Linked DNA regions of Homo sapiens: all the other regions are linked to region 1. The links are contacts of gene promoters, found by promoter capture Hi-C in human tissues and cell types (Jung and others, 2019). All regions are on one chromosome and are shown on one strand. Each heading gives the region's core, a stretch centred on a gene start or on the middle of the fragment in contact. The rest is flanking DNA. Distances are from core to core; before and after follow the strand shown. Region 1 holds the start of HCRTR2 (hypocretin receptor 2). Region 2 has its middle 86 kb from the start of HCRTR2. Region 3 has its middle 100 kb from the start of HCRTR2.

Region 1 (3,195 bases), core at 690-3,189:
AATGTGATATCTATACAATAACAGAAGTACTATGTCCCAAAAAGTATTCTATAAATAGAAGAAAGAACAGATGGTTTTGCTGCTGATTAATCCATTTATCTTTCGTAAATCATCTAATTTCCCCAGGAACAGCTTCCTCATCTATTAAAGGGGGTTAGTAATAGCTAAGCCCTCAGGGGTTTAAAAATGCATATGAAATAATTTTATAAACCATAAAGCACAAAACAAATATGAAAAATTATGATTGGAGGAGGGGGTGGGGTAGTTAACTAAATCTCAGTGTAAACCACCAATGTCTTGTGTGTGTTGAAAAAATAATTACATATAAAAACTGGTTGCATCCAAAGAATAATGTACTTTTTGCACTGGCAAGACTCAAACCATATTATTGTTACTTCCTCCCAGTTACATATTTTGCAAGATATTGACAATTGTCTAAAGGAAGACCAAACAGATGTAGGTGGGAGCTACTGTCATTTGAACAACATTGAAAAGAAAAATACTAAAAAAGAAACATGAGGGCATATAAAGGAGCGCTGGGGCTGTGATGTTTATTTTGAATCTGTGAAGCATTGTCATGTGGAAGATTTATTCTGTGTAGCACCAAGATGCAAACTAGGAATTAGAGGTAAAAGTCTCAAAAAGACAAATCGTGGCTTGAGACCTTGGTTTAATGTAAGAAACAGTTTTCTCACCCTTAGAGCACTCCCATAAGGATGGAAGTAGTGAATTGTGGTGGTCACATTCAAGCTAGATGGGGACATGTCAGCAATGTTATCAGGAGGCTTCTACTCTGAAGCTGAAGTTCAGACAAGATTTCCAGGCTCTTCCCAAGTGCAAGATTGTAATTACTTAAATGCAATATTTTTACCATGTTTATTAAGAATAAAAGGATCATGAATTCACATTCTGACAAATGCTAGAATACTTATTATTAGAGACAAAACCAGTGCATGAGAGAATGGCAGGTGACATCAGCCCTGAATCAATGGGAAGAAAGACCCAATGGGATGTGGTATTTACCAGAGAGAGCACTTCTGCTTAGATTGCTACATCCTACAGTGAATGTTTAATATCATTGAGTATATTGGTGGTCTGTCATGCTTGACAACATTAACTATGATCATATTTATGACACTTGGCGTCCTTCAAGAATTTGTAGCTCTATTTCACATGACACTTAACTATCGCAAATACAAATTCCAGCTAAATAGACCCTTCAGTTTAAAAACAGTCTCATTCTCAAATTTTAAGGAGAAAGTGAAGACGGAGATGTCTTAAAGACTCGGCAAGTACTAAGTTGGCAAATGTCAAATGTTAAAATAAGTTTATATTAAATGTTAAAGTGTTTGCCTGGAATGACTTTTCCATTGTCCTGCTTGAGAAACACAGAGGCACCTCCTTATTGCTTTTATATTTGCTTTACAAAGACAAATGTATCAACATGCTCTGTATTAATTGTATGTTGACATTTTTGTCATATCCACAGACTGATGCATGTCTGTGCATGGTTTATAATAAGTGCACGTAAAAATAGAGAAAATAAGTAGAAAAAGAGAGAGATTTAACTCTCACCCCCCACCCCCCAAAAAAACAGATTAAATTAGTTTTCATTACTTTTTTTTTTTTCTTCAGCTTCAGCTCTCCCTCAGCGAGGGAGGAGGCTGTGGGCTGCGGACTGAGTGCTGGAATGAGGAGTAATTGAGCTTCAGCTGAGCCGGACGTAGCTTTCTCCTCCTGGTGTCATTGCTGCAGCCTCCAGTGCCGGGTCCCTAGTTCCTCAGCTGCCTATCTTCCCGGTGCAACATCGCCTGTAAAGACAGCAAAGCCACCGCAGAAGTTGCCCGGCAGAAGACTCCGGAGGCATTGGCTCAGTAACTTTTCACGTCATTTTCTGCTCGGGAGCCCCTTCTAGCCTCTCCGCGCAGCCTTTCCCACCGCAAATCACCAGTGCTCATGGGGCAGGCGGAGAGGAGCTTGCAGCATTGAGCGGAACCGGACTTGAGCCCGTGATGTCCGGCACCAAATTGGAGGACTCCCCCCCTTGTCGCAACTGGTCATCTGCTTCGGAGCTGAATGAAACTCAAGAGCCCTTTTTAAACCCCACCGACTATGACGACGAGGAATTCCTGCGGTACCTGTGGAGGGAATACCTGCACCCGAAAGAATATGAGTGGGTCCTGATCGCCGGGTACATCATCGTGTTCGTCGTGGCTCTCATTGGGAACGTCCTGGGTGAGTCTCCTCCCGGGCAGCCCTCCTAGGGGCTATCACCCCCTCTCCGCCCCGGGCTGAGAAGGCTCTAAAGAGACCCCTCCCTCCCCCGGGAAGCAAACAAAGAGGTCGCTGCTCTCGGATGGGGTTTTCTAATAAAATAATAATAATAATAGAAAGTTTTCTGATTTTCCGAACCGGGACCGAGCCCTGGAAAGGTTATTCCCTGTTTTGCAGGAATAACGGGGAAACCGCGTTTCTTTTTCGAGCACCTAGATTACAAGCGCAGGGAGAGGGGCCGCGGCAGGGATCTCCAGGTGGATTTTGTTGAGTGTGTGTGTGTGTGGGTGGGTAGGTGGGGGAGTCAGTCATCCCTTTGTGTAACGTGGCTGGGTGTTTCAGGGGGGTTGGGACGAGACAGAGCTTGCAGAATACAAAGCTACATCCCTAAGGAGCAAGCTCTCTGTGGCTGTGGAAGTCACAAAGCATTTGTGAGCTAGGTGGCATTGCCCTTTGGCGAGGAGGTTTAGTCTCCAGTCAAGAGGTGGTAATGAACCAGCAGGGAGTGGAGACGGAGGCAAAGCAGGGAAGTGCACTCACTCATAGAAGCTGAATTAAACAGGATCCATGCCTGGAGCAAGAAGGAGGGGCATCGGAGAAAAGTACCACAGAGATCTCAATCATCCATCCATCCATTCATTCTTACATCCATTCAGCCAAATATTTTTTTTTTTCAGTCTGCTTGTTGCCAGGCTCAGGAATTATTCATGTCAACTGTTTGTTGTTGTTTTGTTTTGTTTTGTTTTCTCCAAAGATGAGACTAAGCTTAATGCTAGGCTATTTGTCCCGGTCTAGGTCTGTATGCAAACACGGGTTTCCTCGACCCCTCATCCCCCTCCCCCTAAACAATTTCTGAGGGTTGGGGAGGGGGTGAGATGGCAACATGGTGAGTGCGATGATGGAATGTATTAGGGCAGTTGG
Region 2 (2,959 bases), core at 90-2,589, 86 kb before region 1:
AACAAGTTTGTTAATCATATTAATTTTTATATATCCATTTGTAGGTTTTATTTACTTTGCTTCATGTACTTCATGAATTTTGATGCTGTGTTTATTCTATGCATAAATATTCATGTCAGTTAGTTGTTTATTGTGGTGTGTAAATTTTATCACTAAAGTTTTTTTTGCTTTATTGCTCTCTGCCACAAGTTTATTTTTATCTGATAATTATATTATGACCCTACTTTAAAAAAATTCATTCCTTAATGTTTTTGCCAATATTTTATGCTTTATATATTTTCATTCACTTTAATTTAAAAGCTTTTCTCATATATAGCATCTTCACTTTTGCATTTTTAATCAATTAAGGATTAAAATTTTAACCATTTATCACTAGTGGTTTTACAGGTATCTTTGATTTAACACTTTTATTAATTTTATACTAGGATTTCTGCTTTTAAAGTTCCTGTTGCTCTTTTTTTTTTTAACATTTAACTCTGCAGCCTGTATTTTCTTGTCTTTAAAATAAATGATTGAGTGTTTTCCTTCTGGTAATTTGTAAGGTTTATGGCTGTTTTAGCACTTTTGGTGATTAACTTTAAAATCTTAAGTATATTTACCATAAATATTTGATTTAGCAGCTGTGAAGATATCTTTGGGTCTCTGCTCTAATTGAAAAATCATCCGTATTTACAGAATGTACCTCTCTGACTCTGACATCAAGAGTCTGATTATTTCTGCATTATCAAAGTTTATAACATTTATATTATTTCTTGTAACCACATTTTGCAGAATTGTTTACTTACAGCCAGTCCCTTTACCACAAGTAGGCCATCCTTCTATTTATATTTTGTGTGGTTAGAGTTCATCAAGAAATAGCTCTTTCAGGCTGGGCACGGTGACTCACACCTGTAATCCTAGCACTTTGGGAGGCCAAGGTGGGCGGATCACTTGAGGCCAGGAGTTCGAGATCAGCCTAGCCAACATGGTGAAACCCTGTCTCTACTAAAAATACAAACGTTTGCCAGTGTGGTAACCCAGCTACTTGGGAGGCTGAGGCAGGAGAATTGCTGGAACCCGGTAGGTGGAGGTTGCAGTGAGCTGAGATCACACCATAGCACTCCAGCCTGGGTGACAGAGCAAGACTCTGTCTTAAAAAAAAAAAAAAAGAAAGAAATAGCTCTTTTAATGAGGGCAGGTTTTAGGTTTCGGACTCCCTTAGTTTATATACATTTGAAACAGTCTGACTTAGGCTTCAAACTGATTAATATTTCATCAGTGCTTAAGATGTGCAAGCCATTATTTTGAGGATATTACAAATATATAGTTTAATTTCATATGAAATGGATAATGTTATTTCAAATGTTCAGATGAGAGCACTGAGATCAAGCAAGGTTAAGTAAATTACTCAAAGACACAAAACTAGAATTTTACATCCTGTGATGACAACTTGTCTGATTTTATAGTTATTAGAATTCACTTTATTTCTCTGAGGACATTGCAGGTACTATGTGTTAGTCCACTTTGCATTCCTATAAAAATACTTGAGATGGGATAATTTATAAAGAAAAATGTTTATTTGGCTCTCAGTTCTGCTATCTGGAAGATTGGACATCTGGTGAAAACCTCAGGCTGCTTCCACTCATAGCAGCAGGTGAACAGGAGCTAGGGTATACAAAGATCACATGGCAAGAGAGGGAAGCAAGATTAGGAGTGGGAGGAGGTGCCAGTCTCTTTTTAACAACCAGCTTTTACAGGAACTAATAGAGTGAGAACTCATTCATTACCATGAGGATGAGTCACCAAGCCATTCATGAAGGGTGTGTCCCTAAGACCCAAACACCTCTCATTAAGCCCCACCTTCAACATTGAGGACCAAATTTCAATATGAAATTTGGGAGGACAGACATCCAAACTATAGCATGTTGCTATAAAGGAGTCAAAATTTCCTCACTTATAGATGGCTTTATTTATTTATTTTTGCTTTACTATACCTACATTCCTTTTTAAAAATAGAGCATAATATAGCTTTTATTAATTAATAAAAATATTTTATTTCTTACTTTTTATGTTTCACTCCTTTTGTTACACTCCAAAGGTGTTTTACCTAATTTTGTTTTGTGTCTCTTTTATTAATGTATTCTGTTAACTTCTCTAATAAACTTAAAACATAACACATTTTCTCGATTTGTTTACGTAAGCATTATCTTCTGCTCTCCCCATTATGAAAGATGGGAATATTACTATCATTGAAGTTCCACATGCCATCTCTTTCTTCCTCTGCTGCCCTCACCTCCTCTTCCTCTTCTTTTCATTCCTTCCCTTCTTCCTCCTCCATCCTCTTTCAATGTCTATTAGCAATTCTTGGTATTCCTTGGCTTGAAGCTACATAACTCCAATATCTGCACGCATCTTCACATGGCCTTCTCCCCTGTTTCTCTGTATCACAAACTTACCTCTCCTTTCTCTTATAAGGGCACCAGTCACTGGGCTTAGGACCCACCCTGAATCCAGGATGATTTTGTCCCACAATCATCAGAGGAAGGATTAGGCAGCAACATCTGCTGTTCTGCAGCCTCTGCTGGTGATACCCAGGCAAACAGGGTCTGGAGTGGACCCCCAGCAAACTCCAACAGACCTGCAGCTGAGGGTCCTAACTGTTAGAAGGAAAACTAACAAACGGAAAGGACTTTCACACCAAAACCCCATTGGCACGTCACCATCATGAAAGACCAAAGGTAGATAAAGCCACAAAGATGGGGAGAAACCAGACAGAAAAGCTGAAAATTCTAAAAATCAGAGCACCTCTTCTCCTCCAAAGGAACGCAGCTACTTGCCAGCAACAGAACAAAGGTGGATGGAGAATGACTTTGACGAGTTGAGAGAAGAAGGCTTCAGATGATCGGTAATAACAAACTTCTCCAAGCTAAAGGAGGATATTCGAACCCATCGCAAAGAAGCTAAGAACTTTGAAAAAAGA
Region 3 (3,362 bases), core at 845-3,344, 100 kb before region 1:
TTCTTATTCTTTAAAATTATTGAAGACCCCAAAGACTCTATGATTATGTGGGTTAAATACATTGGTATTTACCATAATGAAAATTATTAATAAATTAAGATACTTTAAAAATAGTTATATGTTTGTTCACTCAGGAAAGACAATAATAAATCCATTATGTTTACATAAATAACATAACTTTTTGAGCAGTAACTATATTTCCCAAATAAAAACTTGAGTGGGAAGAGTGGCATCATTTTACATTTATGTAAATCTCCTTGACACCTGGCTTAATACATAACAGTTGATTTTTTCTAATCTGCTTCACCATTTCTTCTTTTAAGAAAACACACACCATGTAGCTTGTGGAAAACTACACTGTATAATAAAGAAAGTTTGAGAGCAAAAAACACAGATAACACCTTTTTTGATTATTAAAATATTTTTGACCTGTGGATTTCCTGAAAAACAGGTCTCTGAACTACACTTTAATTTTTACACTCCTGTAAAAAAAGACAAGTTGTTATATGTATAAGGATCTACTTTGCTCCTTAAAACCTATGCCAGTGTCTCAGTAATAGAGGTAAGATGAATTATTATAAATCAGAATAAAGCATAATGAATATAGTAAAATTGTGCTTGGAAAAATATCCTAACCACGTGAGATTTGCACACCTAAATTGTCTTATATTGTTTAATTTGGCACATTCTTTGTTTTTCAAGTTTTATTATTTTTATTAGGAAATACAAAGAATATTAAGTTATTTGCGGGGGTTGGGGCACAATCTTTGTCTTGAAGTATAACATTTTGGCAAGAGATAGGGTGAGAAAAGAAAAATTCTAAGGAAGTAAAATGATTTGGGTAAAGACCAATTCCCTGTGAGTAATAATTGGTGAAAGATACTTTTTTCCTATTTTTCTTCATGACTTGGGACAGAGTTTTAGCCATGAGGGCAGTATTTATTATAATTCAGTGGACATGATGAGGTCTCCAAAAGTACTTAAACTAGACCTCTAGATTCAATTTAAAGTCGTATTCTAATATCTCAAACTAAAAAGAAAATTGTGACTTTTAATTCTACTTCTTTGAATTTCTGAGGCAAATTTCAACAAAGATTCAATCATATTTTTAAATTAATTCAATCTTACTTTAAAAACAGTAACGTTTGATACAAATAAATATACAATAAGGAAAAATCTCTACTTCAGGAAAAAAATCTATCAGCTACTGTTTTATAGTGATCTTAATTTCTTTTAGCACATTCAGTGGCAGAAATTATTTTATTTGATTGTGTTTTCTTTAGAAAAATATCCTTTTATTAGTTCTTGAACTATTACTAGCTTTCACAACACAAAATTTAAAAGGATTAACTTTCTAATTTGTCAAAATTATAATAATAACCCATATTTAAAAGATAATCAGAAAAAAACTTAAGATTTGGACATTGTATTTTTAATTTTTATATTACATGGTAGTTATATCATGTAGTGACTTCATTAACAGAGAACTTAGTTCAATAGTTATTTTCATTTTATGTTAATTCCTCAATTATTTGGTTTTATATTATGTAGGACATATAAGGATAAGCAGGTTATATGTAATTTTTTAATCAGCATTTTAATAAAAATAATTGAAGTCAACACTGAAAAGAAATGTGACCTACAACATATCACGGCATAGCAAAGCTTATTTTTGTAGCATGTGCCAGCAAATACAAGGCACTTGCCGTGATGCACACATACATATCTTCCTAGGCACCTTCATTCATTCTGCTCTCAAATTGTTACCTTCAACACTTCGTGCTTTCTTGTTTCCAAACATTGAGATAATAATATTAGCATGATTGTAGACCATTGTTACCAGCCTGAAAGCAAAAAGGGAATTATGAGAGTGGTTATCAAGTATTTTGGCAAGAGGAGGGGAAGCTTAGAGTAGAAGTGCCTTTGTATGTTAGAGGTGGGCCTTAGGAAGAAGAGGAGAGCAAAAGAGATAAATTTGAGTGTGGTTATTCAGAGGAGTTGATATCCGATGTCACAATGATTCTAACAAAATAGATTTCATCATAGTGCTTGACTTTGATACATTTCGCATTTATCAGGAACTGGGCTCTATCATCTACAGTTTCCCTCTACTCCATCCTTAATCCTCAACACCTGTACCCTTTTCTCACCATCTCCTTATGTTAATTTTGAGTTTAAGAATGTATTGCGGTTTTAAAATAATATTTCAAAGGGCCGGCGCGGAGGCTCACACCTGTAATCCCAGCACTTTAGAAGGCCAAGGCCGGCGGGTCATGAGGTCAGGAGATCGAGACCATCTGGGCCAACATGGTGAAACCCTGTCTCTACTAAAATACAAAAAAATTAGCTGGGAGTGGTGGTGCGCGCCTCTGGTCCCAGATACTCGGGAGGCTGAGGCAGGAGAATCGCTTGAACCCTGGAGGTGGAGCTTGCAGTGAGCTGAGATTGCACCACTGCACTCCAGCCTGGAGACAGAGTAAGATTCCGTCTCAAAAAAAAAAAAAAAATCAAATATATCACCCTTTTTTGATTACAAATAGTTTAGTAAATTCACTATGCTAATGCTTTTATTTTCTCTTTAAAGATTTGTAAAGAAAGAAAGAAAGAAAGAAAGAAAGAAATTATATTCTCCCAGTTTCTGGTCTAACATGTAAGGAGCTTGGATGTCACCACTCCACCCTAATAAATGTGGAGATGAACGAACTGAAAAATCAACTCTTCTTGGATCTGCAAGAGAAGTGAGGATTCAGGGCAAACCAGTGCCCCCAGGATTGGAAAGACAAATAGGCAAAGACAGAGAGTCATGGCTTACTGGAGTACCGATTCATGAACTGAAACATGGGAACAAGTGCTGGGGTAGGAAAAACGGAACTGTAATTGACTAATTGCTGGAAACTTAGTGTGGACAAGTATGATAGACAAAAGCTTCCGGTAGACCTAGTCATAGGGGAGCCCATACAATTTTGTGAGTTTTATCTCCTGGAAAACTACTGAGTTCTCATAGTCAGTACCTGAGAAAAATCCCCTCATGATTCCTGCGGTTGGAAGAGTAAAGGAACCATCTTGAAATATGTCAGATAATTATTTCCTGAGCAAGGTTTGCCCTCAGAAGAAAGTATTTAACTAGAGCTAACTTATCTGGGAAAAGGGAAATATTTAATTCCAGCTGGCTCTAGCCTTCCACTTGTAAGAAGAGAAATACTAAACTCAAGCCCACTCTAGTCATTAAGGGGTAAGGGGAGAAGATTGAGAAGCACTTGTGAAGTTTAGTCCTGAGACACACGCTTACTAAAAGACTGAAACCTAATCATAGGACTGTAGAATGCTTTCCCTCCCTACACTCTACCAGCACATTACTAAAG

The links. Contacts are between HindIII fragments. The study calls those that stand out against the background at their distance.
Region 2: a fragment that was not itself captured here is called in contact with the fragment with the promoter of HCRTR2 in region 1 in 2 of the 25 tissues and cell types used here (heart right ventricle and small bowel).
Region 3: a contact is called between a fragment that was not itself captured here and the fragment with the promoter of HCRTR2 in region 1, in 2 of the 25 tissues and cell types used here (dorsolateral prefrontal cortex and small bowel).

What each region holds. Positions count from the first base shown.
Region 1 is chr6:55,172,576-55,175,770 of GRCh38, forward strand. HCRTR2 (hypocretin receptor 2) reads left to right here and starts at 1,940. Exons shown (of 7, transcript NM_001384272.1): 1 at 1,940-2,235. The coding sequence starts at 2,013. The HindIII fragment of the contact is 12,053 bases long and covers 1-3,195 here.
Region 2 is chr6:55,087,350-55,090,308 of GRCh38, forward strand. No RefSeq gene overlaps it. Among named protein-coding and RNA genes, the nearest start is that of HCRTR2, 86 kb to the right of the region's middle. The HindIII fragment of the contact is 3,959 bases long and covers 1-2,959 here.
Region 3 is chr6:55,070,304-55,073,665 of GRCh38, forward strand. No RefSeq gene overlaps it. Among named protein-coding and RNA genes, the nearest start is that of HCRTR2, 100 kb to the right of the region's middle. The HindIII fragment of the contact is 4,425 bases long and covers 1-3,362 here.